Linked DNA regions of Homo sapiens: region 2 is linked to region 1. Evidence: promoter capture Hi-C in 16 types of primary human blood cells and fetal thymus (Javierre and others, 2016). All regions are on one chromosome and are shown on one strand. Each heading gives the region's core, a stretch centred on a gene start or on the middle of the fragment in contact. The rest is flanking DNA. Distances are from core to core; before and after follow the strand shown.

Region 1 (5,886 bases), core at 2,189-4,688:
CAATGAAATAAAAGAGGATACAAACAAATGGAAGAACATTCCATGCTCATGGGTAGGAAGAATCAATATCGTGAAAATGGCCATACTGCCCAAGGTGATTTATAGATTCAATGCCATCCCCATCAAGCTACCAACGACTTTCTTCACAGAATTGGAAAAAACTACTTTAAAGTTCACATGGAACCAAAAAAGAGCCCGCATCACCAAGTCAACCCTAAGCCAAAAGAACAAAGCTGGAGGCATCACGCTACCTGACTTCAAACTATACTACAAGGCTACAGTCACCAAAACAGCATGGTACGGGTACCAAAACAGAGATATAGATCAATGGAACAGAACAGAGCCCTCAGAAATAACGCCACATATCTACAACTATCTGATCTTTGACAAACCTGAGAAAAACAAGCAATGGGGAAAGGATTCCCTATTTAATAAATGGTGCTGGGAAAACTGGCTAGCCATATGTAGAAAGCTGAAACTGGATCCCTTCCTTACACCTTATACAAAAATTAATTCAAGATGGATTAAAGACTTAAATGTGAGACCTAAAACCATAAAAACCCTAGAAGAAAACCTAGGCATTACCATTCAGGACATAGGCATGGGCAAGGACTTCATGTCTAAAACACCAAAAGCAATGGCAAGAAAAGCCAAAATTGACAAATGAGATCTAATTAAACTAAAGAGCTTCTGCACAAGAAAAGAAACTACCATCAGAGTGAACAGGCAACCTACAACATGGGAGAAAATTTTCGCAACCTACTCATGTGACAAAGGGCTAATATCCAGAATCTACAATGAACTCAAACAAATTTACAAGAAAAAAACAAACAACCCCATCAAAAAGTGGGCAAAGGATATGAACAGACACTTCTCAAAAGAAGACATTTATGCAGCCAAAAAACACATGAAAAAATACTCACCATCACTGGCCATCAGAGAAATGCAAATCAAAACCACAATGAGATACCATCTCACACCAGTTAAAACGGCAATCATTAAAAAGTCAGGAAACAACAGGTGCTGGAGAGGATGTGGAGAAATAGGAACACTTTCACACTGTTGGTGGGACTGTAAACTAGTTCAACCCTTGTGGAAGTCAGTGTGGCCATTCCTCAGGGATCTAGAACTAGAAATACCATCTGACCTAGCCATCCCATTACTGGGTATATACCCAAAGGACTATAAATCATGCTGCTATAAAGACACATGCACACGTATGTTTACTGCGGCACTATTCACAATAGCAAAGACTTGGAACCAACCCAAATGTCCAACAATGATAGACTGGATTAAGAAAATGTGGCACGTGTACACCATGGAATACTACGCAGCCATAAAAAATGATGAGTTCATGTCCTTTGTAGGGACATGGATGAAATTGGAAATCATCATTCTCAGTAAACTATCGCAAGAACAAAAAACCAAACACCACGTATTCTCACTCATAGGTGGGAATTGAACAATGAGAACACATGGACACAGGAAGGGGAACATCACGCTCTGGGGACTGTTGTGGGGTGGGGGGAGGGGGGAGGGATAGCTTTAGGAGATATACCTAATGCTAAATGAGGAGTTAATGGGTGCAGCACACCAACATGGCACATGTATACATATGTAACTAACCTGCACATTGTGCACACGTACCCTGAAACTTAAAGTATAATAATAATAAAATAAAAAAATGAAGCAAATCAGAAGGGAAAAAAATAAATAAATATATAAAAATAAAAATGGTGTTCGCTCCCAGGGACAAAAAAAAAAGGTAGAATTAGAACAACTCCCAGATTTTGGAAATTAGACAGTAGATAAACAAGCAGTATCTGCACTGGCATTCTTACAACATCTGACCCTATGATAGAACTGGGAAAACCAAGAACACACCTGATTTACACACAGTCTCCAACATTCTCACAATTTCACGACAGCAGATATTTCTGGAAGAAGTGAGGATGGGGCAGAACAAATGGAATGCTTAAAAGTCTGTTTAAGAATTAATTAGAGGCCAGGCATGGTGGTTCATGCCTGTAATCCCAACACTTTTGGGAGGCTGAGGCAGGAGGGTTTCTTGAGACCAGGAGTTCAAGACCAGCCTGGGTAACATAGTGAGACCCCCTATCCCTACAAAAAATTAAAAAATTAGCCAGGTGTGGTGGCATGTGCCTGTAGTGCCAGCTACTTGGGAGGCTGAGGTGGGACGATCTATTGAGTCCTGGAGGTTGAGGCTGCAGTGAGCTGTGATTGCACCACTGCACTCATGCCTGGGTGACAGAGTAGGACCCTGTCTTTAAAAAAAAAAAAAAGAGAGAGAGAGAAAAAGAAAAAAAAGAAAGAATTCTGTATCCTGACTTAGGTTTTTGTTACATAAATAGGTACATAGGATTCAACTGCATAGATCTACACACACACACAGACACACACACACACACACACACACACACACACGCATGTTAAATTGCTGAATAAGGTCTGTAGTTTCTTTAACATTATTGAACCTATGTCAGTTTCCTGATTTTGCTATTGTCCTACAGTTGTGGAAGATGTCTCTGTGTGAGGAAGCTGGGTGAAGTGTCCAAGGGAATCTACATATACTTTTGCCACTTCTTGTGATTCTAATAATTTTAAAATAAAAAGGTAAAAAATATAGATGCCTTCTCACAAGCACAAATTCCTACCTACCGGGAAATTCTGAAGTCATACTGTCTTAAAATGAGGGCACATGATTAGTGATTTTTCTTACAGATTTGATTTTAACCTGTTAAAGGCAAAGACATGTTGAGTTAGAGCAACCCAAGATAATTAAATTTTGATGAAATAAAGGATCATTCTATGTTACACAAAATTTTATTTAAAAAATCTGAAATCAATTAAAAGTATCCTTTTCTTTATTCTTTTTCTTTTCTTTTTGCCTATAAAGTATGCAAAACTAAAAATGGATTATTTAAAAGGACTCACAATATTAAAAATGAGCATAGCAATAAACTTTACTAAATTATACATACATACTTGTTAAAGCTAACACTGCCGATAATTATAATTAGCAAAAATTCTGACAATCTTTATGTTTACATCTTTATACATGACAGCAGAGGCTCTTTCTCCTATGCCCTGTGGATTGTATAATCCCTGATGAAAAGTTTACATCTACAACAACAAGTTAGGCTGTAAACACAGGCATATAATTTCTTCCCTGCAGAGTGTGTCATGGTAGGGGAGGTCCTGAGAGAGACTTACTGTTGGTATGTAATCAGGTCTAAGAATTATGAGCCTTGAGCAAATGCCATGTCTCTATGACGGTGGACATGGTGGGTCTGGTGTGAAGTCTGATTTTCTAACAAACCCTCTTGGCAAATTTATAAATAGTTTGATCTACACCTCAGAATGATTCCCAGAACATTCAGATTCTGAGATCTATGCTCAATGCTTTTGCCAGGTAAGGGAGAAGAAGATTCTTTGACTACATGTGGTCAACGTAGATACCTTCACCACCAGTTCTACCTCCAGGGCAGTGGAGGTGAAACACATATCAATGGTCAGCACTGAGTTCTCTGAGTGGAAGGAAGGTGAGTTAATCAAGTTTCTATTTCTCTCTCCTGGATGTTGCTGAAAAATGGGGAAAAGTATTTATTCAATAGCAAGAAACTTAGTGGTATGGAGCTCTGACTCTCGGGCTTGCATTTTTCTCACACTGTTCTCTCTGTTGGCTTCATTCTCAGCCTGGTATCAGGATAGCAATAGCAGTTCCAAGTGACACATCCAGAACAGAGGAATGCCAGGAAAGGAGATTTGTCTCTTTATTAAAAATATATTGACATGTGCTATACATATAGAAGAGTTTAAGGGTCATAAAAATACCAGTTTGGTAAAATTTTACAAACTTAACAACTAATATAACTGTACCCAAATTAATTATGTTTCCCTTATGCCTTCCTACAAAGACCTGTGAAAGCACATTCAGCTTCCTTTCTTCATCCTCTGTCTAGCTAGGATGGAATAGAGGAGAATGTGTAGAAACACTTATGTGATTTGTATGTGGTGAATCATAAGGCCTCGACTACTAAGGGTCTTCTTTTATCACCCGGTGACTTCATGGATTCTTATAGTAAGGTATCTAGAAACCCTATAGGAGACCCCTGTCTAGGAAACAGAATATCAGTATGGTCTCCGCCCTAAAGGAATCCTCCCTTACCTGGTGGTCATCACAGGGAAATTGAAGTGTCTAGTAGAATAATGGAAACATAAGTAGAAACTAGGAAGTGAAGGGACAGATGGAAGTGAGGGAGATGAGACACATCCATATAACCCAAGCTCAACAGCAGGTAGGCCTGTGCCTCAGCTACTCCACCTCTGTGTCTTCTAGTAAGGACAGGAGCAATTGTTTGTCACATTCAGTCTGTACAGACAAAAGACACTGACTGAAATGTTGAGGAGTGGGAGTGGCAGTACATTCAGTACATTCAGATCCCATGAAACAAAGAACTCACCCAAATTCCTACAGCCTGAGTCCCCTCCTCATTAATGAGATTTTGTAAAAAGAAATCTGTGTTCCTAATAGAATTTTCTTTTGTCTTCCCAGATTTTTGAAGACAAAAAATGCTGGCTAGAAACAACTCCTTAGTGACTGAATTTATTCTTGCTGGATTAACAGATCATCCAGAGTTCCGGCAACCCCTCTTTTTCCTGTTTCTAGTGATCTACATTGTCACCATGGTAGGCAACCTTGGCTTGATCACTCTTTTCGGTCTAAATTCTCACCTCCACACACCAATGTACTATTTCCTCTTCAATCTCTCCTTCATTGATCTCTGTTACTCCTCTGTTTTCACTCCCAAAATGCTAATGAACTTTGTGTCAAAAAAGAATATTATCTCCAATGTTGGGTGCATGACTCGGCTGTTTTTCTTTCTCTTTTTCGTCATCTCTGAATGTTACATGTTGACTTCAATGGCATATGATCGCTATGTGGCCATCTGTAATCCATTGCTGTATAAGGTCACCATGTCCCATCAGGTCTGTTCTATGCTCACTTTTGCTGCTTACATAATGGGATTGGCTGGAGCCACGGCCCACACCGGGTGCATGCTTAGACTCACCTTCTGCAGTGCTAATATCATCAACCATTACTTGTGTGACATACTCCCCCTCCTCCAGCTTTCCTGCACCAGCACCTATGTCAACGAGGTGGTTGTTCTCATTGTTGTGGGTACTAATATCACGGTACCCAGTTGTACCATCCTCATTTCTTATGTTTTCATTGTCACTAGCATTCTTCATATCAAATCCACTCAAGGAAGATCAAAAGCCTTCAGTACTTGTAGCTCTCATGTCATTGCTCTGTCTCTGTTTTTTGGGTCAGCGGCATTCATGTATATTAAATATTCTTCTGGATCTATGGAGCAGGGAAAAGTTTCTTCTGTTTTCTACACTAATGTGGTGCCCATGCTCAATCCCCTCATCTACAGTTTGAGGAACAAGGATGTCAAAGTTGCACTGAGGAAAGCTCTGATTAAAATTCAGAGGAGAAATATATTCTAATTAGAAGCAGTAATGATGTAAAACAATTGAAGGACTTCAAATTTTTATTAGTGTTTTTCATGAAGAGATTTTGTTGTTTCTACAGATGGTGTTATGTGTGATTTAATAAACTTGTCTTATCATTTCTCTTATGAGATCATCTTGTGTCTTCTTTTTTGTTTTTGCATCTCTGGCACTTCTCGCAATATTACTAAAGAGGTCATGGCATATTTGTAAAGGGAACATATGCACTGATATTTTTCTTCATCATTTTCTACCTTTCCTCTCTCCTGGGCTATTCTTAATTGGAAAAATGTGGTAAATTTCATGAATTATAAAAATGTCAAAGTCACAGCTTTCTCACCTAAACAC
Region 2 (5,180 bases), core at 1,633-4,132, 40 kb before region 1:
GGAGAATATATATATATATAGAGAGAGAGAATGCATGCCTGGTGGAAGCTCTACCCTTTTATGACCCAATCTTGAAAGTCACATAGCGTCACTTCCACCATACTCTAGTGATTGGAAAAATCCCAAGTCCCTGCCTAGAGGCAAAATTAGGGCATATAGGCCTCATCTTTTGATTGGAGGAGTTTCAGTCCTATTATATCAAGAGCATGTGGGATGTAAGGTATACATGCGTGACTGTGTATGTGTGTGTGCACCAGTATAGTCATACTTGGGAAATACAATCTGCCACACACATACACATTGTATAGTTGTTATAAACAACATATTACATCAGAAAACATCCAGCATAAGGCCAGGCACTCTGTAGTTGCTCCATATGCATTAATTCTCTTTTCTCTTGATTTCTTCCCTTTATATTAAAAAATGGTTTTTTATTTTAAGAGACATAAGATGGAAAAGAAACATAAACGGTGTTATTTTTCTTGCACGTTCTACTATATTGAGTTGTCAGGGCAGTAAATATCCATTTTACAAATGGGGGAATTATAGCTCAAAGCTGTTGAGTAATTTTTGTCTTAAACTAATTTGGTAGGATGATTTATTTTTTGTTCTCCACTTACGTTTTAAATAAACTTTTTATTTAAGTGTAACATAAGGATAGAGCTCGATGAATTTTTGCTAACTGCATACATCTGTGTCACCAGCACCCCTGTCAGAACCAGACATTGCCAGCAACCCTAAAGCACCCTTCACATCCTTCTCCAGTCACTAGCCCCTGCCTGCCCAGCCAAGAGGAACTGCTGTGTGACTTCTAGCACCATAGATTAGCTTCCTTGTTTCTAAACTGTATGTAAATGAAATCATAAAATATACCCTCTTCTGTGCTTGGCTCCTTTCACTCTCTGTTGGTTTGTGACATTTATCTATGTCATTATCTTTCATGGCTATATGGAATTCTATTTTATTAACATCCTACCATTTATTATCCGGTCTACAGTTGGCTGACAGATGGGGTGATTTCAGTTTGTGGCTGTTAAGGACAACGCTGCAGTGCACAATCTTGGCATGTCTTTAGGTAAATATGCCTACTTACTTTTAGTTAGTATACACAATTTGTTGTCCAAGTCCAGACACTTCTGAGAGTGAAAGGGTATGCTATTAATAATTATACAGAGATAATGAGTGTAAGTCAGGACTGTCCCAGGCGAACTGGGATTATTTTAGGTAGCCTTAGTGAAACTTACAAATGCAGATGCTCCCATGTCTTTGAATTTTTCTTAAAATATTCATCTAGCAGATCATATGGAGAGCAGCTTTGTCATCTGAATAATGGCAGGATTAGACCCTTACATCCATCTCCCATTATACCTTAAGCCTGCATGCCTAGAGAGTAACTCTGTGTAGGGGTGTGTGTGTGTGTGTGTGTGTGTGTGTGTGTGTGTGTGTGTGCTTTCTAGCATATGTGTTGTGATATTTTAATCTCTTCATATATAGTAAAGGCCTGTCTGCGGCCCTTATTAGAGCTGCGAGTAGGTGGTGTTTGTGGTGGAGGTGGTGTGGTTTCTGTTCTGAGCAGCGCATGGTCCAAGAAGCCTTTTATCTGAGGTGCTCTCTGTAGATCTGATCTGACCTTTTCTGAGGGGTCCTACTCTCATAGCTCCCTGTGAAGATTTGGAGATGGTGGCTTAGGTTGGGGCTATTCACTCTTAAATTCAAGCTTAGGCTCTGAGAGTTAATGAGAAAGGAAAAAATGAGTCCCCAAACTCAGCACTGAATAACATGAAATCCCTGGAGTAGAGGGAAAGTTTGAGTGGAACCCCCACTCCCAAGATGCTAGGTAAGCACCGTTATCCAGGCTGTAAACAAAGACAGTGCAATTCCTTCCCTATAGAGACAGATCTTGGAGAAATTCCCAGGGGAAACTGTGTCTAATCAGGTCCCTGAGATCGTCAAGCAGCTTAAATTCCTCTGTGATATGACAGCTGGGGTTCTGGTCAAAATGAGAGTTCCTAGTTTTTTTTCCTGAAGTTGTCAAGACCACCTGGGAAAATCCACAAACAGAAACCATGGTCTATTCCTTGAGCACCTTGGAGCCTGGGGTCTGTAAAAGCTCTGATTCTCAGCACCAAGGGAGTCAAAAGAGGTAATACGCAAGGCTGTGTGCTTTCTGCACAAGCAGCACCATTTTCTCTTTCTGGCTAATGGAAAAAGAGATGGCGTAAGGCCCAGCACTGAGTGGGGCCCGGGAGAAGGAAGGTGAAGGTCCGAATCCTGTCTTTCCTGATGGTCTCTTTGAAACCCACAACCAAGGGCTCTGGGAAGTATGGATCCCGTCTCTGCTCTCAACACTGACCCTGAGGTGAGATGGAATGGAGGGTCTTCGAGGAGGCGGGTGGGATGTAAAGAGCCAGCAGGTAACACTCTTGGCTTTCTCTCCAGATGGAAATCCACTATCTAGTTGGGAGACGGAGGCAGAGAATGGGAGGGCATCCTGGTGACCTTGAGAGCTCTGGTCTCTCAGCTCTTGAGGCAGCGGCCCAGGTTGTACTCTTGGTTCTCAGGGTGTCTTTCTGAGAGTCCCTGGGCAGCCAATTCAGGTGTGTTGTCTCCCTCGTCATCTCTCAAGCAGAGACGGAATTCTTGCTGCCCATGGTAACAGATGCTAGCTTGAATTCATGATCGGCCCAGCAGAGCTGAGATCCTCTCACAGACACGTTGTTAATACCTCAGGGTGGGGAGGTGTGTAGATGAGGGAGGATGGAAGAGAGGGCATCTGCACACTGGCTGGTCCACTAGAGTCTTCTTCCCTTAGCCATGCTTGTGCCTGTCATGACTCTTTGTGTTTTGCCCTCTGCTTCCCCAGACAGCTCGCCAAGAGAGAATGACTCTGAGAAACAGCTCCTCAGTGACTGAGTTTATCCTTGTGGGATTATCAGAACAGCCAGAGCTCCAGCTCCCTCTTTTCCTTCTATTCTTAGGGATCTATGTGTTCACTGTGGTGGGCAACTTGGGCTTGATCACCTTAATTGGGATAAATCCTAGCCTTCACACCCCCATGTACTTTTTCCTCTTCAACTTGTCCTTTATAGATCTCTGTTATTCCTGTGTGTTTACCCCCAAAATGCTGAATGACTTTGTTTCAGAAAGTATCATCTCTTATGTGGGATGTATGACTCAGCTATTTTTCTTCTGTTTCTTTGTCAATTCTGAGTGCTATGTGTTGGTATCAATGGCCTATGATCGCTATGTGGCCATCTGCAACCCCCTGCTCTACATGGTCACCATGTCCCCAAGGGTCTGCTTTCTGCTGATGTTTGGTTCCTATGTGGTAGGGTTTGCTGGGGCCATGGCCCACACTGGAAGCATGCTGCGACTGACCTTCTGTGATTCCAACGTCATTGACCATTATCTGTGTGACGTTCTCCCCCTCTTGCAGCTCTCCTGCACCAGCACCCATGTCAGTGAGCTGGTATTTTTCATTGTTGTTGGAGTAATCACCATGCTATCCAGCATAAGCATCGTCATCTCTTACGCTTTGATACTCTCCAACATCCTCTGTATTCCTTCTGCAGAGGGCAGATCCAAAGCCTTTAGCACATGGGGCTCCCACATAATTGCTGTTGCTCTGTTTTTTGGGTCAGGGACATTCACCTACTTAACAACATCTTTTCCTGGCTCTATGAACCATGGCAGATTTGCCTCAGTCTTTTACACCAATGTGGTTCCCATGCTTAACCCTTCGATCTACAGTTTGAGGAATAAGGATGATAAACTTGCCCTGGGCAAAACCCTGAAGAGAGTGCTCTTCTAATGGGTCTCTTCATATCACTGGCAACCGATTCTCGGTAAGCATGATACTCAAGTGTCTTTCTATTTATAGGCGGAGGAATTTTAATATTTTTCCTCAAAGAGGGTCTCCTCTCCACTTTTAAAAATTGGAAATCTCTTTCCTATACTCTCCTTGAGGACTATATTATTTTGCAACAATTAAATTGGCTCACTGCCTGCAAGTTAGTGTCTATGAAATGCCTTTTGTTTACTGAACTCTGTATTAGGCCCAAGAGATGAGTAAGATGAGGCTCCATGCCTTCCATTCTTTTCTTGGTAGGCTAAATGGGTTTTTCTGAGCAAGAACGTTTCTGGCTGGAACAAGGGGCAGGTGGTGGTATAAAGGTTGAGGAGTGTTTTCTCTTTAGTTACATAAGCAGACTTATTAAAGATCAATGGTAGATACCTTGGTGCCAGTGCTAATATGATTATATATCCAGCTCTTCAGGAGGTTGCTTGGTCAGGAAGATCATAAACCCTCCTTTTCATATACATGTATGTACATAAAAGAAGCCCTCACACAAGAATTTTCTATGATCTGCTCTGTAAGGATAAATCAAATCCAAATCTTTTATTTCAAAGTTCTAAAGCTTCTGGGCCTTGGAATGGTAATCAGGGGTAAGTGATCCTGTGTAATTGGGCCAATTTCTTAGGCTCCGGAGACTCAGGCTGGAAGAAGAAACAAGGAAGAACTCCACGGATTTGCATGATCTGTAAAATGTGGCCTCTGCCTTGCTCTGGAGATACTAAGCACACTACTGGATTTTAGGAAGATTGCTTATTCTTTAAAGTGGATTTAGATTTTACAGTTCTGACAACGTGTGTGCATGTTTATATGTGTGTGTGTGTGTGTGTGTGTGTGTCTGTATGTGTATTACAGTTAATCAATATAGAATCGGAAAGAAAGAGGAGTCATATTACACGTCCCACTCTCAGGGAGTCTGGAAGGGATCTGGATTTTGAGTGCCAAAGACCACTCTGTATTACTCTGCTAAAGGTTCTGCTGTTCTACATTGAAGAGTTCAGTGCTCCAGCTCGTGGCCAGGAGACATTCTGAGGGAGAGCTGAGAGCAGGGCAGAGAAGCAACTGCAGCACAGGTCTGACCAACAGGAGACGTGAGACAAACTCTATCTATCTTCTCCAAATCTGCTAGAGGAAGATCTTTGGAGGAGAAAAACTCTGATACTTGGATTATGCTTTGATTATGATAATAATGACACTTAACAGTTACTGAACTTGCACCATGTGTTTGTGCACCATTTGAGGTACCTTAAATATATTAATTCATTCATTGGAATTGATTTAATACCTTACTCAACCACTGCTGGTCAGTCCTCTGGGCCTTGCTGAA

The links. Contacts are between HindIII fragments. The CHiCAGO score rates a contact against its expected background, and 5 or more counts as called.
Region 2: the fragment with the promoter of OR8B4 here is called in contact with the fragment with the promoter of OR8B2 in region 1 in 1 of 17 cell types (neutrophils); the score reaches 7.1 in neutrophils.

What each region holds. Positions count from the first base shown.
Region 1 is chr11:124,382,051-124,387,936 of GRCh38, reverse strand. OR8B2 (olfactory receptor family 8 subfamily B member 2) reads left to right here and starts at 3,438. Exons shown (of 2, transcript NM_001005468.2): 1 at 3,438-3,563; 2 at 4,577-5,543. The coding sequence starts at 4,594. The coding sequence ends at 5,535. The HindIII fragment of the contact is 13,920 bases long and covers 1-5,886 here.
Region 2 is chr11:124,422,573-124,427,752 of GRCh38, reverse strand. OR8B4 (olfactory receptor family 8 subfamily B member 4) reads left to right here and starts at 2,882. Exons shown (of 1, transcript NM_001005196.1): 1 at 2,882-3,811. The coding sequence starts at 2,882. The coding sequence ends at 3,811. The HindIII fragment of the contact is 2,701 bases long and covers 1,720-4,420 here.